Regions from separate parts of the Homo sapiens genome. Here all the other regions are linked to region 1. Evidence: promoter capture Hi-C in 16 types of primary human blood cells and fetal thymus (Javierre and others, 2016). All regions are on one chromosome and are shown on one strand. The core of a region is centred on a gene start or on the middle of the fragment in contact, and the rest is flanking DNA. Distances in the headings are between cores, read along the strand shown. Region 1 holds the start of WWOX (WW domain containing oxidoreductase). Region 2 overlaps MPHOSPH6 (M-phase phosphoprotein 6). Region 3 overlaps CDH13 (cadherin 13). Region 4 overlaps CMIP (c-Maf inducing protein). Region 5 overlaps LOC105369213 (a long non-coding RNA gene). Region 6 has its middle 2.0 kb from the start of PSMD7. Region 7 has its middle 45 kb from the start of PLCG2.

Evidence for each region. The method cuts DNA at HindIII sites, captures the fragments that hold promoters and counts their contacts. A CHiCAGO score of 5 or more calls a contact.
Region 2: a contact is called between a fragment that was not itself captured here and the fragment with the promoter of WWOX in region 1, in 4 of 17 cell types (naive CD8 T cells, total CD8 T cells, activated CD4 T cells and 1 more). The highest score is 11.0, in naive CD8 T cells.
Region 3: a contact is called between a fragment that was not itself captured here and the fragment with the promoter of WWOX in region 1, in 1 of 17 cell types (total CD8 T cells). The highest score is 5.0, in total CD8 T cells.
Region 4: a contact is called between a fragment that was not itself captured here and the fragment with the promoter of WWOX in region 1, in 3 of 17 cell types (activated CD4 T cells, naive CD4 T cells and naive CD8 T cells). The highest score is 10.1, in activated CD4 T cells.
Region 5: a contact is called between a fragment that was not itself captured here and the fragment with the promoter of WWOX in region 1, in 6 of 17 cell types (non-activated CD4 T cells, total CD4 T cells, activated CD4 T cells and 3 more). The highest score is 16.9, in non-activated CD4 T cells.
Region 6: a fragment that was not itself captured here is called in contact with the fragment with the promoter of WWOX in region 1 in 5 of 17 cell types (activated CD4 T cells, non-activated CD4 T cells, total CD8 T cells and 2 more); the score reaches 8.4 in activated CD4 T cells.
Region 7: a contact is called between a fragment that was not itself captured here and the fragment with the promoter of WWOX in region 1, in 2 of 17 cell types (activated CD4 T cells and non-activated CD4 T cells). The highest score is 8.6, in activated CD4 T cells.

Annotation. Positions count from the first base shown.
Region 1 is chr16:78,098,404-78,101,400 of GRCh38, reverse strand. WWOX (WW domain containing oxidoreductase) reads right to left here and starts at 1,747. Exons shown (of 9, transcript NM_016373.4): 1 at 1,516-1,747. The coding sequence starts at 1,622. RefSeq lists an enhancer at 1,014-1,513. The HindIII fragment of the contact is 3,217 bases long and covers 478-2,997 here.
Region 2 is chr16:82,160,379-82,163,299 of GRCh38, reverse strand. All of the region lies in intron 2 of MPHOSPH6 (M-phase phosphoprotein 6), which reads left to right. Among named protein-coding and RNA genes, the nearest start is that of MPHOSPH6, 8.4 kb to the left of the region's middle. RefSeq lists cis regulatory regions at 97, 2,500 and enhancers at 25-169, 2,428-2,572. The HindIII fragment of the contact is 3,410 bases long and covers 1-2,921 here.
Region 3 is chr16:82,653,978-82,656,677 of GRCh38, reverse strand. All of the region lies in intron 1 of CDH13 (cadherin 13), which reads right to left. Among named protein-coding and RNA genes, the nearest start is that of CDH13, 28 kb to the right of the region's middle. RefSeq lists silencers at 976-1,025, 960-1,254 and enhancers at 2,158-2,207, 2,448-2,497, 2,548-2,700, 2,579-2,700, 1,999-2,700. The HindIII fragment of the contact is 646 bases long and covers 1,004-1,649 here.
Region 4 is chr16:81,449,865-81,452,764 of GRCh38, reverse strand. All of the region lies in intron 1 of CMIP (c-Maf inducing protein), which reads right to left. Among named protein-coding and RNA genes, the nearest start is that of CMIP, 6.5 kb to the right of the region's middle. RefSeq lists an enhancer at 691-1,030. The HindIII fragment of the contact is 1,123 bases long and covers 804-1,926 here.
Region 5 is chr16:81,749,064-81,751,992 of GRCh38, reverse strand. All of the region lies in intron 2 of LOC105369213 (a long non-coding RNA gene), which reads right to left. It also overlaps a transcript of PLCG2 not described here. Among named protein-coding and RNA genes, the nearest start is that of PLCG2, 29 kb to the left of the region's middle. The HindIII fragment of the contact is 7,152 bases long and covers 1-2,929 here.
Region 6 is chr16:74,293,341-74,296,377 of GRCh38, reverse strand. No RefSeq gene overlaps it. Among named protein-coding and RNA genes, the nearest start is that of PSMD7, 2.0 kb to the left of the region's middle. RefSeq lists an enhancer at 1-331. The HindIII fragment of the contact is 939 bases long and covers 1,089-2,027 here.
Region 7 is chr16:81,732,931-81,735,733 of GRCh38, reverse strand. No RefSeq gene overlaps it. Among named protein-coding and RNA genes, the nearest start is that of PLCG2, 45 kb to the left of the region's middle. The HindIII fragment of the contact is 1,057 bases long and covers 884-1,940 here.

The sequences.
Region 1 (2,997 bases), core at 498-2,997:
CACTCCAGTTTGGGCGACGGAGCGAGACCCTGTCTTTAAAAAAAAAAAAAAAAAGGCCGGGAGCGGTAGCTCACGCCTGTAATCCCAGCACTTTGAGAGGCCGAGGCGGGAGGATCACGAGGTCAGGAGATCGAGACCATCCTGGCTAACACGGTGAAACCCCGTCTCTACTAAAAACACAAAAACTTAGCCGGGCGTGGTGGCGGGCGCCTGTAGTCCCAGCTACTCGGGAGGCTGAGGCAGGAGAATGGCGTGAACCCGGGAGGCGGAGGCTGCAGTGAGCCGAGATCGCGCCGCTGCACTCCAGCCTGGGCGACAGAGCAAGACTCCGTCTCAAAAGAAAAAAAAAAAAGAAAAACCCTCTGGAAGTGGGGCCCAGAAAAAGGCTCTTACAAAAAAAGTTTCCCAGATGCTGAAAATCAGATTTACATCCATGTTTCTCAAAACCAGGTGATATTCCACCTCACCTGGAAAGCTTAAAAAAAGAGACTCCCAAAGTTGAGAGTCGGCTACAGTAGGTTCTCTATGGAGACCCAAAACGTGTATTTAGGACATTTCCTAGGTGATTCTAAGGTGCCGATATAAGAGGCACTGTCGTATCTTAAGAGCAATCAAGGAACGACAGTTAAGGAACAGAGAGTACCTACTAGACACGGTGCTATGTGCTTTACGCACAGTGCCTGAACTGACCCTCGTATCAACCCATTTTACAGGTGAAAAAACCAAGATTAAACGTTATTTCAATGGCCCAAGGTCACACAGTTAAAGATGAAGGCTCTGCTGGGGTTTCCAAAACTTTCCCAGGAAATGATAGTGAAGCTATCTAGGACTGCTACTAAAAAATACTCCTGGCTAGGCGCAGTGGCTCACGCCTGTAATCTCAATTCTGGAGGCTGAGGCAGGTGGCCTGCTTGAGCCCAGTAGTTCGAGACCAGCCTGGGCAACATGGTGCGACCCTAGTCTCTACAAATACTTAAAAAATTAGTCGGGCATAGTAGTGCACGCTTGTAGTCCCAGCCACTCAAGAGGCTGAGATGAGAGGATTGTCTGAACCCAGTAGGTAGAGGCTACAGTGGGCTATGATGGCACCCCTGCACTCCAGCCTGGATGACTGAGCAATACCGGTCTGGACAAAACAAAACAAAACACAACAAAACTCCTATCCCTGCAACCCAGAGCCTGCAGGAGGGAGCTGAGCATGTGCGCTTTTTAAAACATCTTTATTTTTTGGCGGGGATGAGGCCGCTTTGCCCTCGCCGCGCCGCGCAGTGCTGCATCCTGAACAGCAGAGGGCGCGCCGGGAAGCCACCAGGTGACCCCCGCTGGACCCGAGGCCCACCAAGGGGGCCGGCCCCTACTGGGAACCCTGGACCCTTTTCCCTGAAGCTCCTTAACAGTTACTTTCACTTTGCACCGCACGCGCTGCGCTGGAGTGCGCGTCCTCCCCGCGCAGGTGGCGTCCGTGGGCTGTGCAGGGTCCCAGGTGCGTCCGCGGCCCCACTGCGGCCCCCTTACTTGGCGTAGTAAACCCAGCCGTCCTTGGTGGTTCTCTCCTCCCAGCCCGGAGGCAGCTCGTCCTCACTGTCCGTGTCGTCCAGCCCCGCGTAGCGCAGCGCTGCCATGGCTGACTGTGGAGGCACCTGGCCCCCCTATCGCCCGCTGCCGGGTCCACTCGCTCAGGAACTCACTCCCGCTCCAAACGAGACCCGCGCGCGTCGGGGCCCGACCGCTCACGCCTGCGCACTGCGCCCTCCAGGGGCCGCTCCGCCGACCACGAAGCTGAAATCCAGTCTCCGCAATATCGCGACGGCCGGCGTCAAAGGGGCAGGGCCTGGAGAGGAAGGCGGTGAAAGTGCCTAAGAGATCGCGCTGCCGCCGGGCTAGACAGCAAAGCCGGAGAGCGCTCCGAGGCGCTAGAGATAGAGCGGAGCCTTGTCAGCCTCCCCGCCGCAGGGAAGGGGCGTGCGCATCCAGTTTCGGGCCAGGACTCCGCCCGTTGCTGGGCGACCCGTAATCACTTCCGCGTTGTTCTGGCCAATCCTGCAGGAGCCCGGCAATTGGATATGGGAAATGTAGTCCAGGTGGCGCCTGACCAAAAAGCGGCGCCCGACTAAAAAGCGGCGCCCATGCTGTTGTCCTGGGCTTCTGTCTCTCCTTGCCTTGGGGTCTCGTGAAAGTCCGTGATCACAAACCTTCCAGGGCTTGCCAGCATTCGTGCTGATTCACAACCTTTGTTTTGCATATGAACACAATGTTAAAATATAACCTGGAGAACTTAAAACTGCTGATTCCTGATTTCCTGGTTTTAGAGAACTTTCTTTCAGCCAAAACACATAATAGAGACTGTGATAATAGAGACTGTTGTTTAATAGAGACTCATGATAATAGAGACTGATGATAATAGAGACTGATTGATAATAGAGACTGTTGATAATAGAGACTGATGTTTACGGAGCACTTAATGTGCGGTCCAGGCCAGAAATGCACAGACATCACATGTAGCTGACACCTTTGTGTAGTGGGCACAACTCAGACAGGGTAGCTAGGCCGGGCTCAGTGGCTCATGCCTGTAATCCAAACACATTAGGAGGCTGAGGCAGGAGGATCACTTGAGGCCAGGAGTTTGAGAACAGCCTGGGCAACATCGCAAGACCCCTGTCTTTACCAAAAATAATTATTTTTTTAGTTTGCCGGGCGTGGTAGTGCACATCGGTAGTCCCAGCTACTCATTGAGGCTGAAGGGGGAGGATCACTTGAGCCCAAGAAGTCGAGGCTGCAGTGAGCTATGATCGGGCCACTGCACTCCAGCATGGACGACAGAGAGAGCTGCTGTCTTTAAAAAACTGCCTCACCTTTAGAGAATTTCCTTTAGTAAGTCTGGAATAGGTCCAGAATCTGGAAAGAAAGGGAGGGAGGGAGGGAGGGAGGGAGGAAGGAAGGAAGGAAGGAAGGAAGGAAGGAAGGAAGGAAGGAAGGAAGGAAGGAAGGAAAATAAAA
Region 2 (2,921 bases), core at 340-2,839, 4.1 Mb before region 1:
TTAGTAAGCTCTGTTGTATGGTAGTTTTACTTAAACTTTGGTCAAATGACTGAAGATGCTGCTTACTGTCTTGAGGCACATTTATGTGTTTCCATTCTGTACCTGATGTTTGGGCTTTGATTTGGAATGTTATATTCCCCTGTTCATTTGGCTGACCTCTGGACATTGTTTGAAGGTTAGATACCCTTCTCTAAAGATAGAAAGTATGTCCCACCAGGAGGGATCGGGAGAAGGTACTTTTTTTCTCTGCTTCTCAGAGGAAGCAAGATGTTGGTGAGGAGGGAGAAGATAGTGCCAGGGGCAGGGTCACAGGGAGGAAGGGACCTTTGCTGCTGGAGCTATAATTTACTTTTATGCCTTAAGTAAACTTGCCAAAGTGTTCCTTCCAGTTGTTTATTAAAGAGCAGGACTGTTTCTATCTTGTTTCCAGTATTTTTCCCCTAATACAGCATATTATTCCCAGAAAATGACCTTTACATTTCTTTCTGGGAAGGTAAATAATGCCTTTTTGCCATTACTCAGCATCCTGTTTATGTATAGGTGTGTATATCAGCTCAGGATGTTGGCAGGAGAAGATGACACTCTCAGACTGAGGAGAGACTATCAAGGTGTGGGTGGGGCATAGGGGGGCCCCTCGGGGCAGTGCAGCACCTCCTAGCATGTGTAGTGGGAGTGATTACCACCTGAGCTTGCAGAGTCAACGGGTGGGTGGGGAATAGCTGCTACCGAATCTGCAGATAAGTTGTGTAGAGAGAGCACCTTACAGGAGCTGCTACCTCCATTCACGGGTACGGCCAGCCCAAGGTCATCCTAGCAAGGGAGCCAGGTACCTGGCAGCAAAGGAGCCCTTCCGTGCATTACGTTCAAGTCAGCCTCCCAGGCCAGAGAAACAGGTGAAGACGGGAAGTAGGTCTGGAGGGGTGAATGGATGACATGTCCTTGGTATACGTGTTGTATTGAGTTGTTGTTTTTAACACTCTAAATAGGGAGATCATGGAATGGATTGGTTGATTAAGCACATGGGCTCTGAAGTCAGGCAGACCTGGGTTTGATGCCCAGCTCCGCCAGTTGTTTACTTGTCACCTTGGGTGAGTTACTTAACCTGTTTTGTGTCATTTGTGTATTGGGTATGATGATAGTACCTGTCCAGTACATTCCGAGAAGTAGATGAGGTAATATATGTAAAACAGTCACCATAACACCAGGCATAAAGCACAGTGATTGTCACCATTGTGTGTATTTCCTTATATCTGAATATATGAAGTACACCCATTCCTTTCTACTCACTTATGTTTGTGTATCCTTTTTTGCTAGTGTTGTCTTAACTATTCTGTGAATTTGGAGATTGCATGTGTCTGTGCTCTGAAAGTCTCGACTTTCCCATTTTTAATGTCAGCCGTATCAGTCTGTAATTCAGTGAAGATAATTAGGGCTATTCAGTGTTAACACTGCCTCACAGGGGACACTTTTAGCCAGTGGCTAGACCATGTAGGGGAATGATGATCTAGCTGCTGTGCCTCAACTTGGAACAACTGAAGGGCATTCCTGACTCCAGAGCTCTCATATGTGGCTGAGGCCTTAGTGTAGCCACATTGCCCATTATCTTCTCCCTCTGCCCAATCCTTCTTTCTCTGTTTTCCTAGAAGGGCATCTGCTGAACAACACTGCCTGCTAAGTTTTCTGCATATATGTCTGTCTCAGAGTCTGTTTCCAGGGAACCCGATATAGTGTGAATTCCTAGGAGTGAAATTTACCAGATGAAAGATTTTGCTATCTATTGCCTTATTGTTTTTTTCCCCAAGGATATGGTCCAGAAAGAGTGTGCAAGTATAGGCAGTTTAATTCCTCCTTTGCCGTAGCAAGTTGTTTAAGAAGTATTTTTGGCTATTGTACATCTTATACTTGTGTTTTGTGGTCTGTTTGGAGTCAGAAGCTATAGGGACCTGAAACTAACAAGTTAGCCTGCCACACTTTCACTGATGCTGGTGGAAGATAGGAACCTTCTGGGTCTGAGATGTAGGGGAGGGACAATAGCCTTTCCTTCCACCCATTTGAAGTTCATTAGTTGGGGTCCCTGTAACAAAAGACAGATTAACAAAGAGAAAGGTATACACTTTTATTTCACAAAAGTTTTAGGTGACACAGGAGCCTTCATAAGAAAATGAATACCGAAGAACTGGTTGAACCTGAGTGTTTTTATGTTAGCTTTGATGAAGAGTGGAAAGTTGTGAAGAAATATGATGGGAGCAAGGGGTATGAACGAAGAGTAATAAGCCAGGAGAAACTTAGCAAGTCTTTTGTTCAGATTCCTCTCTCTGTCCCTTCTTCTGAGATAAGGATGTTGCTTTCCTCTGAGTGTAGGGAGGGCACCTCTTATGTGAGATGCTTTTATGACCTGCTTCAGGGGACAGTCAGAAAATCCTACCTGCACGTCATTTTTCAGATTCCTCCAGTGTAAAATTTTCAGTATGCCAAGATGCCATATTTTGGGAGTAGTGTCTCCTGAACACCATCAGAAACAAAGGACTTACTGTACAGCAAGCAGCACAAGCATCAAGTTTGCGTCATTTCTCTTTTGTCCCCAACTCCTATGAGGGATGGCGTGAAGTGGCCCAGGTGGATGCTGTGCACCCAGTGGATTTGCATCATAGCTGAGATCTCCTGAGCTTAGAAAACTGGAACCTTGGATAACGGACCACAAGCAGACTTGCCTTCGGCCCCAAGAGAGGCATCTGTATTATGCTGGACAGTAAGCAAATCTGCCCTTCGCTTTAGAGGAAGACTGTTTTTCAAGGCTGCTCGCTATGCAGATATCCTTGCAAAGATAGTCCAGAGCAACCGGGCAGTTAGTGCCTCACTCAAAAAATGTGCAGGAATGTGAGACCCACTGAGAAGGGTTTTCTAACTGGAGTTTTGCCATG
Region 3 (2,700 bases), core at 77-2,576, 4.6 Mb before region 1:
TGGTGGATACATGAATTTACACATTTGTCATGTATCCACCATACACCGTACAGCACCAAGAGTGAACCCTCATGTAAACTGTGAACTTTGAGTGATAATGATGTGTCAATGTAGAGTCATTGACTGTAACAAATGTACCATTCTGATGTGGGATGTTGATAGTGGGACAAGGCTGTGCATTTGTGGGGATAGGAGGTACTTGGGAAACTTCTGTACCTTCCACCAAATTTTGCTGTGAACTTAAACCTGCTCTAAAAAATAAGGTTTACTTGCTTTTTAAAAAATGCTACCAGGTGCCAACCTGTCTTCCTCTCTAGCCCCTCATCTCATCACCATCATTAACACACACACACACACACACACACGCACACCATTCAAATGCAACCAGGTGCACTCCAGCCTCTTTCTCCAGCCACACTGAGCCAGCTGCCATTCTCCTTCTACCCTGTGCCTTTGAACCACTGATTCTCTGCTTGAAGCCCCCACTCCCACACTGCCAGCTTTTGTTTGACTATCTTCAACATGATTTTCAGTCTCAGCTCATATGTCATCTTTTCACTGATAACTCTGTCCAAGGCAGATGCTCTTTCTCTGTACTTCCAAATCGAAATCAGAGTTCCTTTTGCTAGACCAGCATTTTCTGCCTTGCACGGTAACTCTCAGCTGAAGTTTCTGTCTCTCACACTGTCCTGAGACATGCCACTGGTTCAAGGGGCTGTCTAGGTGGTGCCAAACCTCATACAGATCCTGGCACATAGCAGGTGCCCACTAAAGGCTAGCTGAAATTTCAGGCACTTGAGTAGTGAGCCATGACCCGAAGGCATTGCTTCCTATCTGGGCGACCTTGCCTACTCTAAGCTTCAGTTTCCCCATTGTTAAAATGGGAAAGAATGATAATAAGGGCAATGCCTATTTCATTTGGTGGTTGTGAGGACTGAGTTAATATATATGTAAAATTAACAAATGTAAACAAGAAAAAAATAGCCTGTGGAGGAGGTAAGCTTCTGTAGGCTTCTTCTGAATTGCTTTGGCTTCCTCTGCTGCACATAAAAACAAATGATGTCACTGCCTTGCCCTCCCCCAACCCCACCAGTGGTTTCCCATCACTCTCAGCATCACACGCACACCCTCCCTGCAGCCTAATCTGCCTCCCTGATCTCATCTCCTACTCTTGGACCCGACACTGCGGTAGCCTCACTATTTCCTGCTTTAGGACTTTGCACTTGCTTTTTGCTCTTCCTGGCATACACTTTCCTTTTGAGATCCACATGGCCATCTCATCTACTTCAGAGAGATCTCAGTTGAAATGTCTCCTCTCCAGGACACCTCCCCTCACCCCCAACCCCTATCACAAGGAGCACCTTCGTCACACTTTACCCTTTTATGGTGCTTGATTGACCGGCTCATTGATTGCAACACTGATTACTAATGAATTTTCTTTACTGTTTGCCTCTGCCAATAAAGCAATAGCTCCATGAAGATAGGAACCTGGTTGTGCCCATTGCTATTTTCCTGGTGCTTGCGGGCATTCAGTAAATGTGTTGGGAAAATGAATGAATGTATGAACAGATGAATCCCCTGATACAATGGGAAAGGCAGGGAAATTATCTTGAGTTTCTTTTGGACTCCATCCTCCAGTTCTGGAAGCTTACCTGTACCCCAGAGCCAAGAGAATGACTAAAAGCATGAAATCTGGGACCACCAGCTCCACAGTTTATTTGCTATGGCTGTGGGCCTCAGCTACTTTGCCTGTATAATGGATCTAGTCACTCCATCTACCTCAGTAGTGTTGGGAGGGATGAAAGAACTGATACGAGGAAAGCCTTTAGCACAAGGCCAGGCACATACCTTTGTTAGCTGCTTCACGTGGTTAATACTATAACCTGAGAAGCTGCCCTCATCCTTTCTGTACCCACCTCTTCTGAATATGAAAAAAAAAAAAATCCTTATTTAAATCCATGGTTCCTTTGATGGTACAGCATTTGTATCTTTGCCCACGGCCCCATCCCCTAAGGATGTCTGCCCCCAAATAAAAGTTGTCAAACATTTTAAATGGTATTAAATTGTCCAGAAAATGGGAATGCCCAAAGCAGAGAGTCAGTCAATCAGGATTATTTGAGAGCTTCAAAAAGACAGAAGGAAGCCATTATTAGGTTTAAGAATATTGCATTCCACCTCCCACACAGCCTTTATCTAAATCTTCATTTAATTGGCAGCCTTCAGCACTGTCAGAATTGCATTCTGAGAACCAAGAGAAGTTTTCAAACATTCACACAATGTTATATGCTTGGCTCAAAACAACTCAAGGGGAAAGAACCATCTCTTCTGCAAGAGATTTGGGGATGCCCTAAAGCTGATGCTATGAGAGTTGGGAAACCGACCTTGAATAAGAAACCAAGACCACCATGTAAGTGTCAGCCAAAGACACTGTCCAGAGGTTTCAGGCAGAGAGACTCGGACCTGCTGTCTCCCCAGAATCTCTAGGTGACTCTCTAAGGGCAAGAATTCATCCTTTCTCTATCTCTCAGGACCTCCCCCACTGGCTGGTGCAGTGTAGGCCGGAAATAGATGTTTTTGCAATGACTAATGAGAATTTTTGCGGCTTTATGTCATAAGGGGAATCCTCTCTCAGGCCCATGTGTCTCTGCCTGAGTGATTCCAACCAGAAGCTGGGCTGGAAGAAACCTGATTTCTCCCTGT
Region 4 (2,900 bases), core at 116-2,615, 3.4 Mb before region 1:
TAAACAGATAATAACAGCTCCACAGAGCAGGAGGAAGGAAACTGACAATCATAGAACATGTACCAGGTGCAAGCCACTTTACTGGGTGATTTCCACAGATGATCTCCTCCCTCAGGGCCTTTGCAATTGCTGTTCCCTCTACCTGGAACGCTCTTCCCCCTGGAAGTCCTATCACCCGCTTCCCTGACCACTATGTACAAAGCAGCCCACCACTCGCCCCACCCTGCTTGCTTTTCTCCACGATCCCTGTCATCGGATTTTATAATTACTTGCTCTTAACTTAGTTGTTTGTCCACTCCCACCAACACAGGCTCCACGAGGGCAGGCTCCTGTTTTCTTCCGAGTGCCTAGAACGGTGACACTTAACTGCTGAATGGAGGCATGAAAGCACCGCCAGGCCTCACCTCATTTACCCTGACATCAATGCTAAGAGGAAGTTTCTCTGATCCTCGCTTTACAGATAAGGACACAGGCTAGGGGACCTGCCCAAGGTCACCACCTGGGACACTGCAGAGGCAGGATTCAAGCTCCCCTGTCTGATTTCAAAGTCCAGGTCCTCACTCCCCTACTCCACTGGGTCTGCCGTGTTCTCTTCCTGTGGCCTCACTGCACACCCCAAATGCCAGGACGAGCGCTGTGCACATGGGAGGGGTAACGAAATGGCTACTGAAGTCAGGAACCAATTTCAGCACCAGAAATATTTTCTCTGCCATCTCCTTTGCCTCAATACACACAGCAAACACCTCCCCCACACGCACGTCTCATCACCCTTCGGTTAGGGCTCTGCTGATGTAAGCGAAGCTTCCTTTCAAAATGCGCACAGTCTCCCTCGGTGCCTGTTGAATACACTGGGTGGTTCATCACCAGAGCCAGGAGCAAGGAAGAGAAACTCTCACTTCCTCTCTTCCTCCACCATGGGGCTGGGTGGCCTGGCTTCCATCCTGGGGAAAGCAGGAAGTCAGGGAACAAAAAGCAATGCCCTCAGGTGGAGCTGCACAGACCCTTGTTCTGTGGGTGGAAGTCAGCGCATCCTTGTCAGAGCCCCCTGGTCACCTATGTTCCTTCAGCTGCAGGGAAGACCAAGTGGCCAGACCCTCTGAGGGGGATCCCTGGTTGGTGACCTTTCAGCCAGAACAAAGCATGACTCCAGGTAGCAATAACCCCAGGAAACACTGCCCTTCCCTCTTCAAAAGGAGGCTCAGCTCCCCCATCCCAAAGAATTAAGCAAAAGAACATCAAAATAGAGACAACTCCATTCAGTAAAAATAGAAAATGTTTTCTTTCAAGGAACAAGAGTGTATTAGTCCGTTCCCACGCTGCTGATAAAGACATACCTGAGACTGGGCAATTTACAAAAGACAGAGGTTTAATGGACTCACAGTTCCACGTGGCTGGGGGGAACTTACAACCATGGTGGAAGGTGAAAGGCACGTCTTACATGGTGGCAGACAAGAGGAGAATGAAAGAGCTAGGCGAAACGGGTTTCCCCTTATAAAACCATCAGATCTCGTGAGACTTATTCACTACCAAGAGAACAGTATGGGGGAAAGCGCCCCATGAGTCAATTATCTCCCACTGGGTCCCTCCCACAACACAAGGGAATTATGGGAGCTACAACTCAAGATGAGATTTAAGTGGGAACACATCCAAACCATATCAAAGAGGCTGGGACTAACCTCAATGCCCATCAACAGGGGAGGGTCTACCTACATTACTGTGATACACTTCTACAACAGAACACTATGCAGCAATGAAAAAGAACAAGGCAGCTGCACACGCATGGAGGGTCTCCAAAATATACTGTCCAGTGAAGAACCACGGTAGACAGCTGTGTGCATGCATGTCCAGATACACAAGAAATGAGCAGCAGTGCTTGCCTCCAAGGAGGGCCACTAGGGGCTGTGTGGACGTCGAGTAAGGGAAGCTTCATTTTTCATTAAACACCTTGTTATACTAATCAAATCTACCTGATGCATACATGAGTATTTCAATTTTTGTAATTTATTTTAAGAAACTAGACTACGCCCCGCAAGGAATTTTTCTTAAACTGCTGGCAAGAATTTCATTGCCTTCCTACCTATGAGACCTGCTAAACACCCCTAGCTTTCCCCAATGCACTATTCATCTCAGGGAACTCTCTGGAGGCCACCCATTTTTAGGTAACAATAATCCCTTCCATTTGTGCAGAAAGTCATGAAGCTCTTTCAGGGCAATTAGCAAAACAGGAATTGGAATCCTGGTCACTGTATGCTGACTATACTAGTAGGTGCTTATCTATCCTCTCCAATCCTTACAGCAACCCTAGACATGAGGTGCTCTCCCTAAGGATGGAGGAAAAACAAGGCCCAGCAAGGGAAAGCAAAGCACCAAAAGTCACACAGCCAGGAAACTGCACCCTTCAAATCCAGATCCAGCGCCATGAGAACGCAAAACCCAAATCTGTTCTCCCCCACAGAGGAGATGCCCCATATCAGGCTGCCTCACCTAATCTCATGTATTCCTTTAATCAAAGGTGTAAGCTGACCCCCTGCAATGTCCATGCCAACAAAACACCAATTGGGTACCTTCAAGACGAGTCAGTCCTGGCTGGCAGCAGTTGAGGTACCCTGGGACAGCTTTGCCTTCTACCAGGTCCCCCTGAGCCCTGCCCAGGACAGTGCCCCAGAAATGCCCTCTCACTGCCCGATGAGACACTAAGGAGCAGGCAGGGCCGCCACATCAGTCAATCTGTGGGCCAAGCAGCCCAAGCCAGCAGCAACTGCCACCTCTGTCACCCACTTGCAGGAAAGCTCAGCCACATGCAGTGAAATTCCTTCCACCTGGACTGGCATGATGTTGCCGTGGCCGGAACAGGCATCTCAGATTGCACCAGGCAAATGCGAGCATCAAAACTTACTCCT
Region 5 (2,929 bases), core at 112-2,611, 3.7 Mb before region 1:
TGGAGTGCAGTGGCACAATCTCGGCTCACTGCAACCTCCGCCTCCCAGGCTCAAGCAAATCTCCCACCTCAGCCTCCCGAGTAGCTAAGATTACAGACGCCTGCCACCATATCCACCTAATGTTTATATTTTTAGTAGAGACAAGATTTCACCATGGTGGCCAGGCTGCTCTTGAACTCCTGACCTCAGGTGATCCACCCACCGTGACTTCCCAAAGGGCTAGGATTACAGCTGTGAGCCACTGCACCCGGACTCTTTTACATATTTATAGGGTAAAAAGTGACATTATGATCTATGAATACAACGTGGAATAATTAAAGCTAGTTAACATATCCATCACCTCAAACACTTAACTTTTTTGTGATGAGACTGTTTGAATTTACTCTCTTAGCAATTTTGAAATGTACCATACTCTATTATTAATGACATTTACCACGCCATACAATAGGTCTCAAAAAAAACCCATATTCCTCCTATCTGAGATTTTGTATGCTTTGACCACCATCTCCCCATTTCCCGTCCTCGAGCCTCTGTAACCACCATTCTACTCTCTGCTTCTATGAGTTTGACTGTTTTAGATTCCACATATAAGTGAGAACATGTGACACTTGTCTTTCTGGGCCTGGCTTATTTCACTTAGCATAATGTTCTCCATCTTTATCCATGTTGTCGCAAATGACAGAATTTCCCTGGCCATCAATCTCTAGTTCCAGGCTGGAGGCAGTGGCTCATGCCTGTAATCCCAGCACTATGGGAGGCTGAGGCAGGTGGATCACCTGAGGTCAGGAGTTTGAGACCAGCCTGGCCAACATAGTGAAACCCCATCTCTACTAAACATACTAAAATTAGCTGGGCATGGTGGAATGCACCTGTAATACCAGCTACTGAGGAGGCTGAGGCAGGAGAATCACTTAAACCCTGGAGGTGGAGGTTGTAGTGAGCCAAGATTGCACTACCGTACTCCAGTCTGGACAACAAGAGTGAAACTCTGTTTGAAAAAAAAAAAAAAAAAAAAAAAAAAGCTGGGTGCGGTGGCTCACGCCTGTAATCCCAGCACTTTGGGAGGCTGAGGTGGGTGGATCTTGAGGTCAGGAGATCGAGACCAACCTGGCTAACATGTTGAAACCCCATCTCTACTAAAAATACAAAAAATTAGCCAGGTGCAGGTGTGGTGGCAGGCGCCTGTAGTCCCAAGTACTCGGGAGGCTGAGGCAGGAGAATGGCATGAACCCGGGAGGCGGAGCTTGCAGTGAGCCGAGATCGCGCCACTGCACTCCAGCCTGGGCAAAAGAGGGAGACTCTATCTCAAAAAAAAAAAAAAAAAAAAAATCTCCAGTCCCCATTCTGCTTTTTAAATGCTGAATAGTAGTCCATTGTAAATATGTGGCACGTTTTCTTTATGCATTAATCTGTTGATGGACATTTAGGTTGATTCCATAACTCAGCTATTATGAATGATGCTGCAATGAACCTGACAGTGCAGACATCTTTCAACAAACTGATTTCAAATCTTTTGGGTAAATATCCAGAAGTGGGATTGCTGTGCTGGATTTTTTTTTTTTTTTTTTTTGAGACAGAGTCTCACTCTATCACCACCCAGGCTGGAGTGCAGTGGTGAGATCTCAGCTCACTGCAATCTTCCCCTCCCAGGTTCAAGGGATTCTTCTGTCTCAACCTCCTGAGTAGCTAGGATTACGGATGCCCGCCACCATGTCCAGCTAATTTTTGTTGTTGTTGTTGTATTTTTAGCAGAGATGGAATTTCACCATGTTGGCCAAGCTGGTCTTGAACTCCTGGCCTGAGGTGATCTGTCCGCCTTGTTCTCCCAAAGTGCTGGGATTACAGGCATGAGCCACCACACCCAGCCAAATTGCTGGATCTTATACATTGTTTTCTATGTTTGCTAAAACATAGATACCTCTATGTGTTTTTAACTTTTTTTTTTTCACAATGGGATCATATTATTCTACTGTTGTTTTTACTTAACGGTATATTGCAGATCTCTTTCTAGGTCAGCAAATCCAGCCAGCTTTCTTTTTCTCAACCATGGTACCTTGCATTCCGCCGCGTAGATGGATTACACTTAAGTGAAGCAGCTGTCCATTGAGGGACATCTCAGCTCTTTCTAGGTTTGTGTCTTTGCTTCATAAGCAATGCATCTTTGGACATGTATCCTTGAACAGTGGGGTGAGTATATCCACAGGGAAAGATAAATCATTTGCTGTGTAAATGCTGGACACATACCAAAACAATTTTGACAGAAACACCAAATTGCCCTCCAAATACTTCATTGCTTGAATTGGTAACACTCATCTATTTCTTTAAATTTATTTAATGAAGGCCAGGCACAGTGGCTCACGCCTGTCATTCCAGCAGTTTGGGAGGCCAAGGCGGATGGATCACTTGAGGTCAGGAGTTTGAGACAAGCCTGGCCAACATGGTAAAACCTCGTCTCTACTAAAAATACACATAATTAGCTGGGCTTGGTGGCAGGCGCCTGTAATCCCAGCTACTCAGGAGGCTGAGGCAGGAGAATTGCTTGAACCCAGGAGGCAGAGGTTGCCAGGAGCCAAGATCACACCACTGCACTCCGGCCTGGATGACAGAGTGAATGAGACTCCATCGCAAAAAAATAAAAAATAAAATATAATTTATTTAATGAAAAAGTTTAGTTTGTTTAAGGCATATAATTTGACAAAAATCAATCAAGTGATTTTTTAAAATCTACATCTTCAGGGATTATAGAGATGTTAAAAAGCAACCCAGATGGGTTCAGAGAACAGGATCTTTGGCTGAGTTAGCTCCTACCTTCCCAAATAAACCACCCAACCAGTAGTGTGAGAACATGTAAATCAAACCCTGGTTTGGCTGCCCGGCATCCTAGACTGCTGTTTCCTGACTGAGGGGCCCCCTTGTGAAAGTCGCAGTG
Region 6 (3,037 bases), core at 309-2,808, 3.8 Mb after region 1:
TTTCTCCTTTATCTTTACTGTGGACACTTTGCAATGAACGTGGCAACCTGCAGGTTTCCACCTGTCGTTATATTACTGCGTAACTAGGGCTAGAAGAACGCAATTGTGCCGTTGCTTTTGAAATCAAAATTTACAGAAGCGTTGAAGAAAAGACGGAAGGAAGGCAGTAAGGAAGTATGTTGTGATATGTAGCTAGGAAAGAGAAGACTAAGGTAGACAAAGACTTAAGCTTATTTGCAGGAGGCAAATTATAAGAAAAATCATACAGGTTTATATCGTCTCATTTGAAGTTGCTGTTTCTGTAAACGAAAACAGTACTTAAGCAACCTGAATTATTTACTTATATTTTGTTCTGTTTTTAAACAATTTTTGCTTTCCCTTTATCACCAGAGGATTTTCCCAACATTTTGGCCTCTTGTCTTTTTAAGGTGGACTTCCTGATCTCCAAATGTCAAGGGACACACTCAGTCTCTCTTATTTGTGGGTGGTGAAAAACATTAGCAAAGATTAGACTGAAATTTGGCCACCAATGAGAGACATTAATGTAGTCAGGAGTTTGAATTTGTCTGCATGTGAATTTATCTTTGTCTTCTGTCTGCAACTTGGCTTTATTTTCAGATTTTCTGCTAGATCTGCAAGGAAGTAAATGGCAGGATATGCTTAATATTCATAATTAATTGAAGAGACTCAATGCTATCTTTATTTTTTCATTTTTTTTTTTGGTACAGTTGGTGTCTCACTATGTTGTCCAAGCTGGTCTTAAACCCCCAGCCTCAAGCAATCCTCCCACCTCAGCCTCCCAAACTGCTGGGATTACAGGTGTGAGCTACTGTGCCTGGCCATTCATTCTTAATTATAACTAGAAAGATATAAGGGTTATGTTAATGGGGAAAGAAAACTAAGAATTATTGAATCTATTGAGTGCCTATAATATGCCAGCCCTGGTTCAGACGCAAATATTTAATCCTTTTAATTAATGCTTCTCAAACTTTGATATGCTTACAAATCACCAGGGGACCTTGTTAAAATTCAGATTCTGATTCTGTAGGTCTGAGATGGGACCTGAAATTCTGAGCTTCTAACAAGCTTTCAGGTGAGGCCCATGCTGTGTTAACAAGGCTTGTAACAACCTTACGAAGTCGGTATTTTCTCATTACAAATGAAAATTGTTGCTCAAATGTTGCTCTCGAGGTGGGCTTTTTCTCACGCTTTGAAAAAATTTTGTCTTTCTCCCCCTAATGTGTTTCTGCTTTAGTTTTCTCCATAGTTTTTACCACTTGTGAATAGTTTGTAGAATTTACTTATTCTGTTCATTCTTTGTCTCTCATTAGAATGTAAGCTCTTGTTTAGTTTGTAAACTCCTGTTTACTTTTTTTTTTTTTTTTAAATAAATGAGAGACAGTCTCGCTCTGTCACCCAGTCCGGAATGCAGTGGCACAATCTTGGCTCACTGCAACCTTCACCTCCCAGGTTCAAGCGATTCTCATACCTCAGCCTCCCAAGTAGCTGGGACTACAGGTGAGCGCCACCATGCCCCACTAATTTTTCTATTTTTAGTAGAGATGGAGTTTCACTGTGTTGGCCAGGCTTATCTGGAACTCCTGAACTCAAGTGATCTGCCTGCCTTGGCTTCCCAAAGTGCTGGGATTATAGGTGTGAGCCACTGCACCTGGCCCCTAGTTTACTTTTATATTATCATTGTCTTGAAAAGTGCCTGGCACATAGGAGACATTCAGTAATTACTATATAAATGAATAATTAGTTATGATAGTGAAATGGAAGATGACAATAAGGCTCAGACATTGGGAAGGATCTTTCCAAGATCACATTGCTGGTCAGGATCAAGCCAGGTTTCTGTGACCCCAGTTCCTAATTGGTTGGTGTGCCTGCTTGCAGCAGTCTTAGGCAAAAGAATTGCATTAATTTTATTAAGATACTAAATTTCAAACTTTAGAAAGTGATATATTTTATTTCACACTGAGTTCACTTTGCAGTTGTACTAAGCCTAAGCAAGCTGTTTCGAAGCTTATTGGGTGTCTCCAATCCTGACTCACTGAAGCAGTGTGAAACTGACTATGAGCTTAAAAAATTATTCTAGTTACACATGATCATTGTGGAAAAATGACACTATTCAGATAAATAAAAATGAATATAGAGCTGGGCATGGTGGCCTGTGCCTGTAATCCCAGATACTTGGAAGGCTGAGGTTGGAGGATCACTTGAGCCCAGGAGTTCATGACCCTTCCGAACAGTAGGACCTTGTCACAAATAATTAATTAATTGAAATAAATTAAAATCACCTGAAATCGTACCACATACAGAAAACTAAGATTAACCCTGGCCCAAAGTGCTTTTTTTTTGAGACGGAGTCCTACTCTGTCACCGGGCTGGAGTGCAGTGGCACAATCTCGGCTCCCTGTAACCTCCGTCTCCCAGGTTCAAGTGATTCTCCTGCCTCAGCCTCCCAAGCAGCTGGGACTATAGGCGCATGCCACCATGCCCAGCTAATTTGTTTGTATTTTTAGTAGAGACAGGGTTTCACCATGTTGGCCAGGAAGGATGGTCTCGATTTTGTGATCTGCCTGCCTCAGCCTCCCAAAGTGCTAGGATTATAGGCGTGAACCACCGCGCCTGGCCTAAAGTGCTGTATTTCTTAAGGGATTTCAGCATTAGCTTCCTAATTTCTCTTTTTGCCTTCCAGTTTTGACCTTCTCCCATCTCCATCCTCCACTCTGCAGCCAGACTTATTTTATTGATTGATTGATTGATTGAGACTGAGTTTCACTCTTGTTGCCCAGATCTCAGCTTGCTGCAACCAACACCTCCTGGGTTCAAGCGATTCTCCCACCTCAGCCTCCCTAGTAGCTGGGATTAGAGGTGCCCGCCACCACGCCTGGCTAATTTTTGTATTTTTAGTAGAGACGGGGTTTCATCCTGTTGGCCAGGCTGGTGCTGGGATTACAGGCATGAGCCACTGTGCCCAGCCTTATTTTAACATTTTTAATTTGTTATTTTTTTAAAAGAGTTAGGGTCTCAC
Region 7 (2,803 bases), core at 163-2,662, 3.6 Mb before region 1:
CATCATGAGGGCACTCACATAGCCTACAGAGAGGCCAGTGTAATGAGAAACCAAGGCCTCCTGTTAATAGCTGTGCAAGGGATCCATCATTAAGTGGATCCTCCAGCCCCAGGCGAGCTGTCATATGAAACTGCAGACCAAGCCACCATCCTGCAGCAGCCGTGTGAGAGGCCCTGAGCCAGAACAACCCAGCTAGGCAATCCCAAATTCCTGAGCCAGAGACATAGTGAGATAATAAATATTTTCTGCTTTAAGCCACAAATTTTAAAATGATTTGTTAAATAGCAATAAACAACTAATATATATCCATCCATGAGTCACTCAACAATCCACACATCCATCTATACACCCACCCATTTATTCACCCATCCACTCACCCACCAATCTATTCATCCATCATCCATCTATCTATCCATTGATCCAGCTACCCATCCACCCAGTCATCCACTCATTCATTTACCCACCCATCCACCCACTCACTCATCATCTACTCAGTACAGAACCCAGGGCCTAGCACACAGTAGACGCATGTAAATATTTGTCAAATGAATAACCAAACATTTTGTAAATGTCTGCTCTCTATTTCTTGCCAAGACAGGCCAAGGGAGGCTCAAATGTGGCCCCTGGACCACTGTGAGATGGAGCCAGTGCCTGGTTCTGCCAGAGCAGCTCTGGCCTCTGGATGCTATTGGCCACCTCCTGGGCCCATTTGGCATCATCTCCTTCTGCTAAGAACCACCCACCCTTCTCTCACCCACCCACGCGCAAGCTGCATGGGCCTGCCTGGTAGGAAAAACCTGGCTCTGTCCCTCCCTCTCCCCCACCCCACCACACACACGCCCGCTGGGGCTGGTCATCCTGGAAGGCTGGGAACAGAGAAGCTTCTTGCCTCCCCAAGAGAGTTTGTGACAAGAAGATTTGGGTTCTTCTAGGTTCAAGAACCTGGGCCAACTGGGGCAGCCATAGGGAGGTTTTTGGCAAAGGCCTGGCTGCCTCTTCCCAGAGAATGTCATGTAGGCCTGGGCTCTGCCCGACCCACCCCAAATACCCACTTCCAGCCTATTCCCTTCTCATCCCTCATGGTTCACCTTACAGGCTCAGGCCTCAGTTTTCTCATCTATAAAATGAGAATGATGAGACTATTTTGGAGATGAGATGACACGTGCACAGGGGAACCCTCAGCAAGGGGCCCGGTGAGCAGCAAGTGCTGCAGTGCATGTGGAGCTACTGTGGACCGAGCGGATGGACAGTGAAACCAATGACACCCAGAGGCCCGCAAGCAGCCGCTGACCCGGCCCTCCCCTCTCCTCCCCTGTGCCCACTCTGCCCTGGCTGCATCCCCTCCTCCTGCTCCTCACACTCTGTGCCCACTCCCACCTCTGGGCTTCTGCACTGGCTGTTCCCTCTGCCTAGAATACTCTTTCCCCAAATACCCACTCAGCTCCCTTCTCCCTTCCCTCAGGTTTTTGCTCAAATGTCACCTTCTCAGTGAGCCCCACCTGGATACCCCTCCTCAACTCTCACCAGTCCCCTGTTTGGATTAATTTTTCTCTACCGTATTTATCCTTTTAAGGTACTACATCTTTTCCATCTCTCTCTTTTTTTTTTTTTTTGAGATGGAGTCTCGCTCTGTCACCCAGACTGGAGTGCAATGGCACCATCTCAGCTCCCTGCAAACTCTGCCTCCCGGGTTCAAGCGATTCTTGTGCCTCAGCCTCCCGAGTAGCTAGGTCCCACCAAACCTGGCTAATTTTTGTATTTTTAGTAGAGATGGGGTTTCACCATGTTGGCCAGGTAGGTCTCCAACTCCTGACCTCAAGTGATCTACCGCCTCAGCCTCCCAAAGTGCTGGGATTACAGGCACCAGCCACCACGCCTGGCCCACTATATCTTTTCATTGTTGATTTTGTTATTGCCTGACTCCTCCCAGAACATAAGCTTTATAAGCATGGGAATTTTGGTCTTGCTTGTTCATTGCTAGATCCTCAGCATCTACCAGAGTGACTGGCACATAGTAGGTGTACAGTCAACGTCGATGAATGGAGGGTGAATGGATGAATGGATGGATGGTGAATGTATGTATGGATAGATGAATGAATGAGTGAATGGATAGATGGATGGGTGGCTGGATAGATGAATAGATGGATAGGTGGGTGGATGGATAGATGGATGGGTGGGTGGATGATGGTGAATGGATGGATAGATGGATGGGTAGATAGATAAATGAATGGGTGGGTGGATGGACGGATGGATGGATGGATGGATGGATGGATGGGTGAGTGGGTGGATGGGTAGGTGGAAGGGTGGATGGAGAGAGGATGGACAGATGGATGAATAAGTAGATGGCTGGATGGATGGAGAATAGATGGATAGAGGGTGGGTGGATGGATCATTGGGTAGATGGATGGTCAAAATAAGAGGAGACTGAGTGAGCCTTCTCTAGCAGTCTAGAAATCACCATCTAGGCATGAGTTCCCCATGTTCTAAAGGTAGAAAACTAAAAGACGACTTCAGGGCTTATTAAAAAGTGGTGCAAAATGTTCCACTCTCTCCATATGTCATCCCACCTCCAACAGAAGACTTGAGGTCCATGAGCAGGGAGAGAAAAAGAGGGAAATCTCCTTCCCAGGTTCCGGGTTCACTCCTGTCCTCCAGCCACCCCCAGCCCAAGGCAGGTGATGCTTGATCTTCATGCTGCCTGCCTGGACTAGAGAAAGGCAGCTAGCAAGAGGTGCCTGGGTGGGGAGAGGTGACCACAGCAATGTCCTCCAGTCTACAGGTCAGGGCAGTGTGACTTTCTGGG